Regions from separate parts of the Homo sapiens genome. Here regions 1 and 3 are each linked to region 2. The links are contacts of gene promoters, found by promoter capture Hi-C in human tissues and cell types (Jung and others, 2019). All regions are on one chromosome and are shown on one strand. Each heading gives the region's core, a stretch centred on a gene start or on the middle of the fragment in contact. The rest is flanking DNA. Distances are from core to core; before and after follow the strand shown.

Region 1 (3,148 bases), core at 600-3,099, 350 kb before region 2:
CACCACCCCCAGCTTATACTCCTCTGGAGTGTATCCTGAACCACTGGAACTGCTTGGACTCTCAGAGTCTGGAGGAAAAGTGCCTCATATCCCTCTGCACAAAGGTTTGGCCAAATTATGATTCACAGGAAAGACTGGCTTGGCCTCAGGGAGGAACCATTCATTTCAATACAATCTGGCAATTGGAACTTTTCTGTAGATGTGAGGGCAGGTAGTCTGAGGCTCCATATGTGTAGGCTTTCTGTACCTTGCAAGGACCTTTGCCGACAGTGTAGGATTGATCTAGCCTTCCTGTTTGCCATCTCAAGGAAGGCTGCAAGGGGCAAGCCCAGGGAAGTAAAGACACGAGTGCCAGAGGCACCCCCAGCAGAGGAGCCAGCTCCCTCAAACCCTGTTCCTCCAAGTTCACCCCTGCCTCCTTCTACAGCTTCAGCGTCTCACTTGCCCACTCCTAAAAATCCTCCCCCTAAACAAGCCCCAGTCTCACTTTTGCCCCTCCAACAAATGCCCAGTGAATTTGGGCCCAGTAAGGTCCAGGTCCCCTTCTCCCTACGGGACTTAAAGTAAATTAAGGAAGATCTTTGCAAGTTTTCAGATGACCCTGATAGATAAATAGAGGCTTTCCAGAATTTCACCCAAATATTTGAACTCTCCTGGAGAGATGTTATGTTACTTTTGAATCAGACCCTGATGGACACTGAGAAACAGGTCGCTCTTCAAGCAGCAGAGAGATTTGGGGATGAGCTTTGTGTCACATATAGCATCAGGGAAGGGGGTGAACATTATCCAACCTGAAGAGAAGCAGTACCAGTGAATGACCCTACATGGGATCCCAGTGACAAGATGGAAGATGAGAAGAGGAAACACTTTCAGGTGTGCATAATGGAGGGCTTACATAGGACTCTCAATTATACTAAGTTGTCCATGATTGACCAGGGATTTGATGAAAATCCCACTGCCTTCCTGGAAAGGCTAAGAGAGGCCTTGGTAAAGCACACCTCTCTATCTCCTGATTCAGTCAAGGGACGGCTAATCCTAAAGGATAAATTTATCACTCAGGCTGCCCCTGACATCAGTAGGAAGTTGCAAAAACCGGTCCTAGGACCAGACAGTATATTAGAGGACCTCTTGAAAGTGGCTACCTCAGTCTTTTATAATAGAGAAAGGGAAGCCTAGGAAAGAGAGACAAGATACAGGTATTCCCAGGGTGCATCTGTGAATTGCTAAGGATATGGCAAGAACAGCTATCTCTCTTCTAAAGTTTATCCGCTCCCATACAAGGTTTAATTTCTTTCACCAGGATGAAACAGCTTGGGGTACAATGTTGTTGTTAGTATATTTTACTTCTTGTCTCTGTAATCTTTGGCACTCAATTCTTTCCTTGTTATAATACACATGTTTAACTCATGCATTCTTAACCTTATAAAACTTGTTTTTTTCTCTCATGCCTAGAAACCCTCAAACTCCAAACCGTCAGGCAACCGGAGCCTCAAACGATGGCTCCCCTTTGCTAGGAACCCTTAGATAGACCTCTGGGAGGAGTCTGACTGCCGTTTTCCCCAAAACAACGCCCCTGTCAACAGGAAACAGCTAAGACCGGTCATCGTCCATATTCTAGTGGCAGTTAGATGTACCTCTTTAAAGGGGGGATATGATAAGGGAGTGCTGGGAAGGGAAGAGCGTGGTCCCTTTAAATGATACAGAAGCAGAGAGGGGAAGAGCTGGGTAGAAGAAGGCGGGTTCCTGGCTAGGGCTTCACCCCCAAGGACCTAGGTGAGGACAGGCACTTCTGCTTTCACGTCCAAATGTTGCAATTTCCAAGACCACCCTGGCCCACCACCACCTGGCCCCATCCTGGGCCTATAAAAACTGAGACCTTAACAAGGCAGAGACACACAAGCGACTGGACATTGTGAGGAACACATAGGTGGAAGAAGACACAAGCGGCTGATCGTCGAGAGCACGCAGGCAGAAGAGCACATTGACAGGCACCGGCATGCCCGCAGGCCATCAACTGGTGTAATGACATGGAGTTTGGCTGGGGCAGTCTGAGGAGAGCCTGGGCTGCCGAGCTGCCCAACTCCAGGGGAAAACAATTTCCCTCTGGCTCCCCTGTCTGCTGAGAGCTACTTCCACTCAATAAAACCTTGCACTCATTCTGCAAGCCCATGTGTGATCTGATTCTTCTAGTACACCAAGGCAAGAAACCCAGGGATACAGAAAGCCCTCTGTCCTTGAGACAAGGTAGACGGTCTAATTGAGCTGACTAACACAAGCTGCCTATGGATGGCAAACTAAAAGATCACCCTGTAACACACGCCCACTGGGGCTTCAGAAGTTGTAAACATTCACCCCTAGACACTGCCATGGCATCAGAGCCCCACAACCTGCCTGTCTGTATGCTCCCCTAGAGGTGTGAGCAGGGGGGCACCAAAGAAGTGAGCCACATCCCCATCACATGCCCTGTGAAGAGGACAAGGGAACTTTTCCCGTTTCAACTGCATTACAGCAACATAATGAGATACTGTCTCTTTAAAAAAGTCTGAAAACCACTAATCTACGGTTCTATTGGCGTGATTCACAGCTGAGAAAACTGGGGCTGCAGGACAGGGTGCTGAGCCAAGACGGGCACTGAGTTCTTTCTCCGGGTCAGAGCAAGCTCCTTCCTCCTCCACCAGTGTCTTTTCTCCTGACTTGTTTTCTGACCATTCACCCTGGGTTCAGCTTGGAGCAGGGCCTGTGTATTTACTGCTGAGGCCACATTAACTCTTAGCAATGATTAAATTTTGACATCTCAAAACCACACTTCCGAATGTCCCCTTCAGAGGGATGCAATGATAACTCCTGCAGACCTTCAGCAAAGGGATATTACTTTTGTGCCCCCTTGGTCCCAGTGTAAAAGTGTTGACTGAAATTAAAAAGGGGAAGTGGTTGTAATTCACCAGGGCCTTTCCTCTTAAGTGGGTCTTGACTTTAATTTCCACCCTCAAGGTGAAGGGCAGAAGGTTTCTCTGCAATTTCACATTAGTTTAACAAATGGTTTAATGAGCACTAAAATCAGTGCTACCCTATGTTGCCCAACCCCAGGAAGAGTGATTCACATTGAATAGAATGTGGATGCTGCCTGTCCCTGGGATGGTGGGGTTCA
Region 2 (3,198 bases), core at 92-2,591:
CAGCAGTGAGTGACATAAGGCAAAGAAATTTCCAAGCATGAATGTGACCAACCCCGTCAACACGTGCAGCCTCATTTTCTCATCCTGGTTTGCTTTGGGTTTCTTTGATAAAATGATGGTGATGGCACAAAGACAGTAAGCTAACAAAGGCAGAAATGCTGACAGCAAGCATTCATCAAGGATACTGATTTTTATAACGACCCTCTGGAGTTTACAGATGTGACAACAGGGGTACTCAGATTTTCAGGATGAGAAATCTGGGGGTGAGGAGGTAAAGTGACCTGCAGTGGCGGGGTACCCCACTGGGCAAGATCTGCAGGCACAGGCTCCCATCATGCCAGGCCAGGGGACAGCGGTGACCCACCTGGGTCCTTACCACATCCCACAGGCAGGTCACCTTGCTGGCCTCACGCCCAGGAAAGGGGGCATGGAGGTTTGCACCATGTCACACTGCCATGAGACAGTCAACAGCAGAGCACACAGGCTGCCCAGCCTCAACAACACATGGGTGCTGGCGCGCACAGAGCATGGGGAAGAGGGTTTAGAAATAAGACCCATGGAGGCTGGGTGCGGTGGCTTATGCCTGTAATCCCAGTACTTTGGGAGGCCAAGGCGGGCAGATCACAAGGTCAGGAGATCGAGACCATCCTGGCTAACACAGTGAAACCCCGTCTCTACTAAAAATACAAAAAATTAGTCGGGCGTGGTGGTGGGCGCCTGTGGTCCCAGCTACTTGGGAGGCTGAGGCAGGATAAATGGCATGAACCCAGGAGGCAGAGCTTGCAGTGAGCCAAGATCGCACCTCTGCACTCGAGCCTGGGCAACAGAGAGAGACTCCGTCTCAAAAAAAAAGAAATAAGACCCCTGGGCCAAGACCCCATGATCTCTTCCTGTGCCAGGTTTCTCCTGGTCTCCATGCAAGGGACCTAGCAGACAAGCAGATAGCTTAACTTTGTCTACTACCAGGCAGCAGAAAGTCCTCGAACTTGGAAGGTATCCTGCATTTGCAGGAAGAGCAATCAGCACTTCTCATGGCTGAAGGCATCCGCTTGGAGGAGTCTTCTCAAAAGCCTTCAGGAAAAAACTCCATTCTCAACACCAACTCCAACCTCTGAACTGACCCCGCCGGCCAAATGCACCCTCCTGGTACAGGGCCTCCACTCGTGCCAGAGTGAGCCCACATCCTAGAGGTGATGACTTTTGAAAGAAAATTTCTGAATGCATACTTTAAAATCAAGCTTACCAAACCCTCTGAGAACAGTGATAACTCACCTTTCCTGGTCATCAGAAATGTTCTGGGCTGCCTCCTCGGCCATGTCCTGTGCAAGCTGGTCACAAGTATGACAGTCAGCAGACCAGCTTCTTCCTACATCCTCTGGAAGACAAAGAAATAGAGCTTAATGCTTCCAGCTTCTGTACTTGTGACCTCTTATCAGGACACACATCAAACACAGAGGGAAAAATCCAAACTCCAGTAACATTTTCCCAAGCAGAAACAGCTTTTGTTTTCCTAACACTGTCAGACAAATTCCTTCCTAAGAAGTGTGCTTTTGACAGACGTGGTGGCTCATGTCTGTAATCCCAGCAATTTGGGAGGCCAAGGTGGGTGGATCACTTGAGGCCAGAAGTTTGAGACCAGCCTGGCCAATATGGTGAAACCCCGTCTCTACTAAAAATACAAAAATAGCCAAGTGTGGTGGCACACATCTGTAATCCCAGTTACCCAGGAGGCTCAGGCGAGAGAATTGCTTGAACCTAGGAGGTGGAGGTTGCAGTGAGACGAGATTGCACCACTGTGCAATAGAGTGAGACTCTGCCTCAAAAACAAAATGAAACAAAACAAAACAAAACAAAAGTGTGTTTTAGGTAGGGATCTTTGTGGCTGCCTGAAACAGATCACTACTCAAGGGAGAGACTGTACATGGAAGCTGAGAGAAGTCTGAGAATAAAAAGCTGTAACTGTTGGCTGGGCGCGGTGGCTCACGCCTATAATCCCAACACTTTGGGAGGTCGAGGTGGGCGGATCACGAGGTCAGGAGCTCGAGACCAGCCTGGCCAGCATAGTGAAACCCCGTCTCTACTAAAAATACAAAAATTAGCCAGGCATGGTGGCACGCACCTGTAGTCCCAGCTACTCGGGAGGCTGAGGCAGGAGAATTGCTCGAAACCGAGAGGCGGAGGTTGCAGTGAGCCGAGATCGTGCCACCACACTCCAGCCTGGGCAACAGAGCGAGGCTCTGTCTCAAAAAAAAAAAAAAAAAAAAAAAGCTGTAACTGTCCACAACTGCACTGGGGAACAGGATACCTTCCACAAGAGCAGAAGAGCATTCCTAAGGAAGGCTGGCAAGGCACACACTAGGCGCACTCTGTCTTACGGCAGAACCTAGGAATGATCTGGTTCCGAACCTCCTGCACCTCTCCTTGTTTGCAACTGGCGGGTCAGACTGAGTTCTCTCCATTACGAAACATTTTCTCTTATATTTTTAAAGCACTTGTTAGTTGTCTTAGTTCTTTATACCAACATTTAAACCTTCAGAGATTTTAGAAAACTTAATGTTTTACTCAGAACACTAGATATTTTTTCTCTCCACTCTGAAGAGAGTGATACCAAGAAGAGTGGGAACGTTTTCAGGCACAAGCTCTTTCTCAGATGGGAACACAGACCCCTTGAACAATGATGAACCAAGCTACGGGTGTCCGGCCTTGGATCCTGTGTTTTCTGGAACTTTGCTGCCAATGAGGTGAGTAACCAGAGCCCTGTGGTGGGTTAAGGGGCCTGCTGTTGACCTAACACACCTGTCTCCTGGGGCCTGCTGCCACCTCTGCTCTTCTCACACTGCCTTGTCAGTGCCTCTGGCTTTGTCCCCACTGTGCTTGTTGTGAGTAAATCTCAGATTTGGGGGAAATGCATACTTTCCAATTTCATTAGCAATACACTTTCAAATGCGCCTGTGACCAAGAAAAGGATAAACTGCAAACTGCAGTTTGTAAACGAACAAAATCCCTTCTTTCTGAAGCCCCTGTGATTTGCTCTGACACCTTCCTGTCAAATCTAAACAGAGTCCACTGGGTAAAGACACCTGTGCAACCCTGCCTGCTGGGCTGGCATCCATACCCACACGCACACCTGGATGCTCTGACCTTGCTGCTGCCTGTTCCTTCCTTGTGGGGCTGGACATCCTGAGAACAGGGCCTACA
Region 3 (3,211 bases), core at 80-2,579, 390 kb before region 2:
CCCCAGGCCAGACGCTGCCCGCTCTCACTGGCTGGGCTGAGGGGAATGCAACCTCCCATAAACCCAAATGGCAAAACTCCACAAGTCTTTGGTACAGTGAGCATGGCATGCAAGGAAGGAATGGCACCTGGCGATTCTCAATGCAACGGTGCTGGGCAGAAGGGCAGGTTGCAGCCAAGAGGCCCTACTCCCAGCCCTCTGTCCTCCAGTCCCTGCCACCAAGCCATGCCCCCCACAGACGATAACCAGGAGCAGCGGGGGCGGGGAGCAACAGAACCTGACCTGTGCAGGGTGTGCAGGGTGCCTAGTCCCCATCTTCCACCAGTTGGTGATGCATCCGAATCCTGATCTCTGCCTGGAGCACATGAGGAGGCTCAGATCCACCTTGGACAAGTCCTGCAAATGTCCAGGGTCAGAACAATCCTTAAGACCAACAGTGCGTCTGGGAAAGTTTACAAGCGTCCTACGTAAGGGAGAGGCTGACTTTTCGTCTTTCCTCAGGGTGCAGTCACGGGTGATATGCACAGCTTTGTCAGAGGCTTTGAAAACCAGCAGCCGCCAAGGCTACTTCCACCAGAACCATCAAACCTGCCTGCAGCGAGCTCACAAATGGACCTTTCTGTCCCAACACTACTATTTAACCCAACCCTCACCCATCTAGGGGGTGCTATCTTTTAATCTTTCAAATACAGGAAAGGAAGAGTCACAATGTGGAACGAAAAAAATGGTCCTGTCCATTTCTGCAATGCCTTTCCTTGCAACACATACAGAAATCTATCTTAAGTAACAACCAGGTAAAGCACCCATATGGGTAAATAACTGAAGGTTTTATGGGAATATGACGTGGCAACTGGCAGAATACTCTCTGGGATTTTTCATCCTAGTTTGTTTTTTTAAGTGCCAACTGACTTCTCTGCCTACTAATAATTGGAGGCGCTGGGGACATTTGGAAATGTGAGGACATTTTAACCATCACCACCACTGGGGTGGCCACTAGCATGTAGTGGGAGGAGGTAGGGAGGCCACGCCATTCCTAGAGCAAACTGTCCAACAATGAATTATTCCACACCACATGCCATGAACCACGCCTTACTGGATTACATCCACAGTTCAAGAATGTGTGTCATGGAATTCTCCAGAGGAAGTCTCCAAACTGGAAGGATGGCCTCTTTTCCAGAGGGCTGCGTAGAAGGCCTGCGGTGAGCAGGCCTCGGGACATCTCTGCTGTCTGCCCATCGTCCCTCTGGCAAATGACAAATGACGAGAACTTCTGCACCACTCCCACCCCCACCAAGGAGGCCTGAGCACACGAGGCAGGCCCAGGCTGGCCCTCCACTGTCCACCCCCATGTGGGTGCTGACGCCTGTATACAGGACACTGCTTCCTGCAGGCAAGAATGAGGGAGCCCGATTCTAGCATCAGAGCCTCTTGTAGGTTCCCAACATAAAAGGAAACAGGGTATTTGCCGTCCTGATAAGAGCAAGCTACAGCAAGCCGGTGCCGAGGAGGATCAAAGAGGCTGCGCCACCTCCTAGGAATGCTTCCTCGGCCTGCATTGTTTTCTTCTTTTATTCTTACCCCAGGGCAAAAAGCAAAGCTCCCAGTCTGTGCCTCATTTCAGGCTAACTTGACACTTGGCAGAGGGTCCCACACCCTCCTCCATGCAAGAGTGGGTGCCTCCACCAACCCCAACCCCTTTGTGTCCATCAGCCCAACTTCAAAGAGGCCGACCCCAGCACCTCCCCACCCTGCAGTGGAGCACACCTGCAGGGACCAAGAAAGGCCCAGGTTTTCATTCTAAGGACTTGGGGTTCAGGCCCACCTCTCCCATCACCTACTTGCAAATTTCCACCGACTCCTGTTTCGTCGATGGAAAAACTGGGACAAAATAACCACAGCCTCCCTGGGCAGGTTTCCCACGCATGAGGAGAGGACAAGGCCCACTGCCTGGGGCCCCCCTCAGCAGAGGGTCCCAGCTCTGCCTCCCCAGGGTCCCACTCTCCCACACAGCCACCCTATGGGACATTCCTCTGTGTACACCTGCAGGAAAACCCTGCTCAGGGTCCAAGTCCAAGCCCTCCTTGGTTATGTCCAAGGCCATGAGCAGGAGGAAGCTTTGCATGACCCCCTCGAGCCCTTCCACTCACCTGGTAATGGCAAAACTGGCCGCAAATCTCCCAGAGCCGAAATCTCCCCAGAGGGAGCCCAAGGGAAAGCACTGGAAGGCAGAAGCAAATCTCGCAACGCCCGTGTATATAGACCTCCCATGTCACTCTTCCAACCCCATGTTTAATGCATATTTAAATATACAGACAGGCAGGTCGTGGTGGTTCACACCTGTAATCCCATCACTTTGGGAGGCCAAGGTGGGCGGATCATGAGATCAGGAATTTGAGACCAGTCTGGCCAATATGGTGAAACTCCATCTCTACTAAAAATACAGAAATTAGCCAGGCATGGTGACGCGCGCCTGTAGTCTCAGCTACTTGGGAGGCTGAGGCAGAAGAACTGCTTGAACCTGAGAGGTGGAGGTTGCAGTGAGCCAAGATCACGCCACTGCACTCACACCTGGGCAACAAAGCAAAACTCCATCTCACAAAAAATAAATAAATAAATAAACAGACATCAAGACACATGTTCAGATTTTTAATAATGGGAGCGGGAGAATTCTCCAAGGGACAGCAGAGGTGGCTTCACAACATTGCATCTTAGGAATGTGCCCTTGGCGAGTTCCAAGAACTTTCTGGTGCAGGGCGGTGCCTCAGCCTCGTCACATCATCTTTACGCACCCCAGGACTATGCAGAGAATGGAGAACAAGAGGCAGGGATGGGGGCTGGAAGGGGCTAAAACAAGAGCCACAGGAGCCAATCTTACGAGAGGCCAGCCCTCCTGCTCTACATCTCTGAGGCCTCCATCAAAGTTCACAGCATCCTATGGCCCCAGTCTCCCTGGGGCCCTTGTCCATCTCTGCACTCACCTCCTTCCACTCCCCCTCATTCCAGGCCCAAGCTCCACCATGCATCTTCATCAGGGCAATGGGCAGCCTGGGGACCAGGACACGCAGAGAGAGCTGCTGTAGCATAGGACAAGGAAACCCTGGCCTTCACATTCGGCGGTCGAGCAGCCCTGATGATCTGATGAAGCTACAAACCCTGAGAACAATCCACACACACTACACCTAGCATGAAGGGATTCACGATGCTGCTGAGG

The links. Contacts are between HindIII fragments. The study calls those that stand out against the background at their distance.
Region 1: a contact is called between a fragment that was not itself captured here and the fragment with the promoter of PKD1L1 in region 2, in 1 of the 25 tissues and cell types used here (adrenal gland).
Region 3: a fragment that was not itself captured here is called in contact with the fragment with the promoter of PKD1L1 in region 2 in 1 of the 25 tissues and cell types used here (neural progenitor cells).

Annotation. Positions count from the first base shown.
Region 1 is chr7:47,598,386-47,601,533 of GRCh38, forward strand. No RefSeq gene overlaps it. Among named protein-coding and RNA genes, the nearest start is that of TNS3, 18 kb to the left of the region's middle. RefSeq lists an enhancer at 2,676-2,765. The HindIII fragment of the contact is 5,292 bases long and covers 1-3,148 here.
Region 2 is chr7:47,947,125-47,950,322 of GRCh38, forward strand. It overlaps PKD1L1 (polycystin 1 like 1, transient receptor potential channel interacting), which reads right to left and starts at 1,342. Exons shown (of 57, transcript NM_138295.5): 1 at 1,273-1,342. The coding sequence starts at 1,316. The HindIII fragment of the contact is 8,797 bases long and covers 1-3,198 here.
Region 3 is chr7:47,556,755-47,559,965 of GRCh38, forward strand. All of the region lies in intron 1 of TNS3 (tensin 3), which reads right to left. Among named protein-coding and RNA genes, the nearest start is that of TNS3, 24 kb to the right of the region's middle. RefSeq lists enhancers at 1-308, 1,037-1,764. The HindIII fragment of the contact is 6,111 bases long and covers 1-3,211 here.